Linked DNA regions of Homo sapiens: region 2 is linked to region 1. The links are contacts of gene promoters, found by promoter capture Hi-C in human tissues and cell types (Jung and others, 2019). All regions are on one chromosome and are shown on one strand. The core of a region is centred on a gene start or on the middle of the fragment in contact, and the rest is flanking DNA. Distances in the headings are between cores, read along the strand shown.

Evidence for each region. Contacts are between HindIII fragments. The study calls those that stand out against the background at their distance.
Region 2: a contact is called between a fragment that was not itself captured here and the fragment with the promoter of PRR16 in region 1, in 1 of the 25 tissues and cell types used here (IMR-90 fibroblasts).

Annotation. Positions count from the first base shown.
Region 1 is chr5:120,462,863-120,466,290 of GRCh38, reverse strand. PRR16 (proline rich 16) reads right to left here and starts at 1,991. Exons shown (of 2, transcript NM_001300783.2): 1 at 1,646-1,991. The coding sequence starts at 1,804. RefSeq lists an enhancer at 1,116-1,617 and a silencer at 2,023-2,072. The HindIII fragment of the contact is 4,324 bases long and covers 147-3,428 here.
Region 2 is chr5:120,809,485-120,813,175 of GRCh38, reverse strand. No RefSeq gene overlaps it. Among named protein-coding and RNA genes, the nearest start is that of PRR16, 350 kb to the right of the region's middle. The HindIII fragment of the contact is 3,650 bases long and covers 1-3,582 here.

The sequences.
Region 1 (3,428 bases), core at 742-3,241:
TGTTTCAGATGAAAACACAGTCTACCAAAGATGTCATATAAAAGAATAACAAAGAAAGGGACAGCATTTTTAGAATTGAATTTCAATGCATAACCCCACCATCTGTCAACCAGTTGTGAAGCAATAATCCTACAGAAACCCTGAAAACACGAACAAGTTTTATCCCTGAATCTATGTATACTAACAGCCACTCTCAGGACCTCAGTACTAATTATGTTCTGTCTGTGGAGTAACCTACAGGAACGACATTTACCACTGGCAAACTTAACCCTGGTGACGAATGGCCCATTTTAACAGACTTGCATTAGGTAACAAATGCAGAGTTCAGTTCATAGAGGTAACGGGGGAAGGGGAGGAAGACGAGGGGGCTCTTGAAATTTGGTTTGGAAATTGAATACAGGAGGTTAATCTCTAGAGGCCAGTCATCCAAACAACCCTCAGTCTCCTCCCCGTTGGCTTCAGAAACAGGATTACAATTTTGGACCTAGACTACGCCCCACCCCTTTTCCCGCTGCAGCCACCGCCACCTTCGAAGTTCTAGTCTTAGCTCTCACGCAGCGGAGCTGCGGACTCCCTCACCGAGAACCGCACCAGGACCCCATTCAGTAGTGAGCGGCGCGCTGGGACTCTGCTACCAGCTCCGCGACGCCGCCGGCAGCCAGCCTGGCTCGGGAGACCCCACCCCTCCCAGCCCGGCCCCCGCCCCCGCCCGGAGCCGCCGCCTGAGTTACGCAGCCTCAGCCCTGACACCTTCTCTGCTTCTTTCCATCTGGATCACCTGGGGCTAGGGGCGGGCGGGAGTAGGGCTGAACCGAAGTGGGATAGGAAAAGCGGGGAAGAACCGAAGCAGTCCCAGCTGCAGAGAGCCAGGACGCCAATGGCAAGACCCCGGCCACACATACACTCTCCTGCGCGTCCTGCTTCTCGGGTTCAATGCCAAGTGGCGACAGGGTGGAAGGAAGGAAGCAGAGGTAGGGTGGCGGGAAGGCCCAGAGTTACTGGTAACGACGTTCGGAGGAGAGCAGGGGATGCTTCAGAAACTGAGAAAGTGAGAAAGTCCCAGACCCCCTCCTTAGCCCCAAGGCTGCCAGCAGCCCGGGTCGCCTTCCCTACAGCGAGGCTCGAGAGACAGGGAGGGTAGTCTGAGCCAAGCTTCCTCCAGGCTGCCCTCCCTGATCTGGCCCAGGGCCCAGAACCCGGCCCCTCTTCAGCCCTGACTTGGGGAGGCTGACAGATAGGCAGCGGACTTGCCAAAGGACTCTGGGGAAGCAATAGGGCAGGAGAGGAGCATCTTGCACGCTCCAGCCGGGCTGCTCACGACTTCCTCTGCCGACACACCCCCAGCTAACCCTCTCCCCCGTCGTCACACACACAGATTCAGAGACACGCGTGCGTTCATCCCTCCCACCAGCCCAGGTCCATCGATTAAAACACTAGTTGATTTCTTCCTGATTAAAAAAAAAAATTAAAAAGTGCAACAACAACTCCTCTCAGGACTCCAGGAGCAAAGAAAGTCCGTCTGCAGGCGCCTTTTCTGTAGTTTCCCAGGAGTTTGGAAATCTGGCTGTCCCTGCTGAAAATCGGAAAGGGGACCCCGGAGGGGTCGAAGGGTGCCGAACTCCCTCCCCACCCCTGCGCCTCTCACCTCCTTAAGTTCCTTGGCCACGTCCTTCAGGTCGCCCAGGACTAATTCCAAATCCTCCACGATGATCTTGATCTGTTCCTTCACCTTGGTTTTGGAGGCTGCCGGCGGTCCCTCGGCTGGACAGGACGAGGAGGGGTTCCCCTTGGACTTGGCTGACATTCTTTGGGGGCAAGCGAGGCAGGTCAGGACAGGCGGGCGAGCGGAGGCTGCTGCGTGCCCCCGTCCCTGGCGCTGCTACGGCCGCTGCCGCCCCGGTCCCCCCACATCTTGGGCGCTCCCTGGGCAGCGGCGAGTGGCTGCGCTCCGCGCTCGGCCGGGCGGCCGCACAGTGGTGCTGCCATCAACTCCCGAGACGCGGCGCTCGGCTCGGGGCTGCAGACGGGCGAGCAGCGCGCCTGCGCCTCCTCCCGCCGCCGCCCGGCGCTCTCGCGCACACGCGCTCGCTCCCCGCCCGCGGAGAGGGGCGCCGTGCTGCCGCGCCAGGGTTGACGCTTGCAGTCCCCTCGACGTTGCCCTTCGAGATATCTCCCAGATGCCACCTTGGCATCAAGGTGGGGGAGACAAGTCCGTGTCCTGCCCGCCCCCTCCTCTTGGTTCTGAAATGTCCCCATCATCTCAGCCTGCTTGCTGTATGTCATCTCACAACTAGCCTGGATTCTTTCTGCTTCACTTGCTAGCAGGGACCTGGATCAATTCAGAAAGAACCACAGTGGGATCAGGAGTTGGAGACAGTCTGTAAAGTGGCCCTACAGATTTATCCAAACCCAAATGATGTCCAGAGGCCTTTAATCAATCTCTTGGTGACCTGCGAGTTAAGCAGACTTCTTAACTTCTGCAAGAAAAAAGGGGGGGGGGGGTGCACATAACAGCTAATGGTCATCTATTGAAACCATGAAATTCAACCAGTGTTCTTGAAAGAGGTACCCTAATCCTGCTAATTCCACAAAGCTAATACCGGATTTATTAATTTGAAGTCCCCACACCCCAAATCCTCTCTGATTGTCTCAGTCATCTTGGCTGTATGTCTTATTTGGCCCAACTCTTTTTTTTTTTTTTAACTGTCCTTCCTCTTTTTGTGACCTATGCTGATTTACATTTTGAGTGGAGTGGGGGAGACATCGTATTTGGACCTCGTGAAGGAGCTGAGTAAGAGATTGCCTCCAACTTCTCTTTCATCATTTTTTAAACCTCCATTTCAACTCTTTTGCTACTAAACAAATAGGAAACAACTTTCTGACTGTTCTGTCAAAAAGACCCAAGAAGGGAAGTTAATAGGAAGCCTTCGGTTCACTCTCAGTAGGTGTCTACAATTCTCATTAGCTAGAATTTTAACTTCCTTAGTTGTAAACCCATGGGCTATTAGCTACTGACCCAGCAGGCTGGCTCTACTTTATTTTCTTCACTGCACACTCCTCCAGATCATTCTTTTAATAGGCTTCCCCTTTTCGTCGTGCCTTAGCAAGGCTCTCTGTTTCTTGCTTCTCACACTCTGGGTAGCTCCACTGTGCTACACATAAAGAAAAGCTTGGCAGCTCTCCTCTTCCCAGTTCTGTAGGCTCTTAATCAATCACTCTCTTAATCCTGGACAATTCATCTTTACAAAACCTTTGGAAGTCATATGTGGAATATAGAGGAAGAAAGAGAACAGAAGAAAAAATTGAAATTTGAAAGTGGTGTCAAAAGAAAACCATTGAAAACTGCATTGAAAAATCAGGGGAAGAAATGAGAAAAGGTGAAAAGCAGATGCTGCTGGAAAGACTTAAGAAGAGATTATAAGAACAAG
Region 2 (3,691 bases), core at 508-3,007, 350 kb before region 1:
CTGAGGTCAGGAGTTCGAGACCAGCCTGGTCAACATAGTAAAAACCCATCTCTACTAATAATGCAAAAATGAGCCAGGCATGGTGGCAGGCACCTGTGATCTCAGCTACTCGGGAGGCTGAGGCAGGAGAATCTCTTGAACCTGGGAAGCAAGAGGTTGCAGAGAGCCAATATTGTGCCCCACTGCACTCCAGCCTTGGTGACAGAGCCAGACTCCATCTCAAACAAACAAACAAACAAAAGCAATTCCAATAGCCAAATCATTCCTAAGTGAAAATAACAAATCTGGAAGCATCATATTTCATTTCCTTTCTTCAAATTACAGTACAAAGCTATAGTAACTAAAGCAGCATGCTACTGACAAAAATAGACACATAGAGCAATAGAAGAGGAAAGAGCACCCAGAAATAAAACTACATACTTATAACCAACTCATCTTTAATAAACTTGACTTAAATAAACAATGAAGAAAGGATACTCTATTCAATAAATTGTGCTAGGAAAACTGGCTAGCCATATGCCAAAGAATGAAACTGGACCTCTATCTCTCACCATAAACAAAAACTAACTGATGGATTAAATATCCATATGTAAGACTAGAAACTATAAAATTACAAGAGGAGAACCTAGGAAAAACTCCTCTGGATATCGGTGTAGTCAAACAATTTATGAGGAAGACTTCACCAGCAAGTGGAATAAAAACAAAAATACACAATCAGAAGTTAATTTAACTAAAATGCTTCTGCACAGCAAAATACATAATCAACAGAATAAACAGCCTACAAAATGGGAGAAAACATTTGCAAATGATACCTCTGGCAAAGGATTAATATCCAGAATCTGTAAGGAACTCAAACAACAAGAAAAAAACAATTCCATTAGAAATTGGGGAAAGGCCATAAACAGATATTTCTCAAAAAAAGAAATACAAGCAACCAACAAAGATGAAAAAACTCTCAACATCAGTAATCACCAAAGAAAAGCAAATTAAAACCACACTGAGATATCACATTTCACCAGCAGAATGGCTTTTATTTAAAAAGTAAAAAACCCCACAGATATTGATGTAGATACAGAGAAAAAGGAATGCTCATACACTGTTAGCTGGAAAGTAAATTAATTCAGCATCTATAGGAAACAATATGGAGATTTCTCAAAGAACTAAAAATAGAACTACCATTCCACCCTGCAATCCCACTGCTGGATATCTACCAAAAGGAAAGGAAATCATTAAATTAAAATGATATCTACACTCTTATGTTTATTAATAGTGTTATTTACAATAGTAAAGTCCTAGAACCAACCTAAGTGTCCATCAACACATGATTAAATAAAGAGAATGTGGTATATATACATATATATATGCACCATGTAATACTATGCAACCATAAAAAGAATCAAATCATGTCCTTGGCAGCAACATGCATAGGACTGGGTGATGGGTACACTAGAAACACAACCCCCACCATTACACATGTAATTCTCAAGTTACAAACAAGTACATGCACCCCCTGAATCTAAAATGAAATAAAATTAAGAGGGATAAGTAATTATCATCTGGGAGAAAATGTAGCAAATATTTATCTAACAAATAATTTGTATCCATAGTACATTAAATAATTCTACAACTCAGTATAACTGACATAAATAATTCAATATAAAATGAACAAATACTTGACATTTCACAAGGAAATAAAAATAAAAGTAAATAAACGTATTGAAACATGCTTAACATCATTAGTCATTAAGAAAATTTAAATTAAAACCAGAGAAAATATCATGACACACCCACTATAATGGTTGAGCTGCGTTTAAAAAAACAAAAACAGAACACTAACAACCCAAGTGTTTACCAGAATGGGAAACACCAAGAACTCTCATAATGTACTATGGGAATGTATACAATAAAAGAATTTTGAAAAACTGCTTAAAAAATTCAGCATATACCTTATTCATTACCCGGAAATTCTAATCCTAGGTATTTGTGCAAGAGAAATGAAAACACACAAAGCCTTGTACAAAATACACACAGCAATACTCAGAAGCAAAAACTAAAAACAACTGAAATATTCATCAAGAGAAAAATGAATAAATGTATTTGATTGTAATATAATTATATTTTAGAATATTGCTCAGCAGCAAAAAGGAATACAATTCTTACATATACGACAATATAGTTGAATCTCATAGACAAGCTGAGGAAAAGAAGTTGGACATGAGAATATACACTTGATGATTCCATTTATGTAAAGATATAGAAAAGTCAAAACTAATGTGAAACAAATAGTCGCCCCAGAGTGAGTAGACATTGAGTGTTAGGGACACATGAGAATTTCCATAGTGATGGAAATTTATATCTTGACAGAGTTGTACAAACATCTATCAAACTCATTAAATTTCACATTTTAGATCGGTTCATTCTTAATGTATCTAAAATTTACCAAAAAATAACTTTAAGCAGATATTGAATTTTAGTTACTAGGTTTGCTTTTCTTGATATTATAAGTTGGCAATTTTGAAACTATTCTGTCTATATTCTAGAGTTGAGCAAATGAATATAAATTTTGGGAATAGTGGGAGCCATATTTTTCACTGTTGGGGAAATAAATTACAAATATGGAAAAGGGAATGTCCAAAGAGTATATTGTGTTGTTGATTTTGAAAGAGAACCATCAGTATTAACTCATGGCTTTTAATATATAGGTAAAACAAAGAAACAAATACAAATAAAGAAATAAATACAGTGTGTATATGTATATATACCTTAATATCTTGTGTATATATATATTTTCACTCTGCCTAGAAGCAATAAATTACCAGTAGCAATGAATACATTTAGCACTCAGAAGCTTGGTTACTAAATACTATTTTTCATTTGAAAGGAGCTAGACTTTCTTAGAGAAGACTGATTCCAGATCTTGGGCAAGGAAAATGCAAAATAAGCCTATAACATATTTGCCAGAAAGTAATAATATTTTTGAAGAATTACAGTAATACATAAAAAGTCAAATTGAAGGGGTTCCTAATTCCCAAATCTGTATGAATTTGACTATTATCCAAAATACATAATTATAATATTACATTATAACCCATAGTGTAAATTAAGAATCCATTATTCCATTCTAATATAAATTAACAAGCAAGTAGGACAATTTCTTACAGAAAAATGTCAAATGACAAAGAAGGAATCACTGAATTAGGGAATCATCAATGGATGCTAAAACTAGTCAGTAAACGTTTGACTGATAGTTGAATATCTACATATTAAACTCCTCCAGACTACTGATTAGTTGCAAGTGAAAAATAGCCACATTACAGTGGAGAAGAATAGTAGTCTCCACCTTAAGTAATCAAAGTTAATATGAGCAATATAGGTATAAAACAAACTCATGGGCCTCCTGATATTCACTAAAAAGTCTATATCAATTTTGTGATACATCTGACACAAATGCGTAACCCGGGTCTATCCATCACAAAAACAAATCAGAATAACCCAAATTAAGAGACATTCCACAAAATAACTATTTTGTACTCTTTAAAAATGTTAATATCAAGTAAGAAAAGAGAGTCATTTTCAGATTAAACTGAAGAGATATGACACATAAGTGCAATGTGGGATCTTAGGCTGGATCCTGGACTGGGAGCAGGAGATGGAATTTAGCCATTTTGAGATATTTGATAACATTTGTACA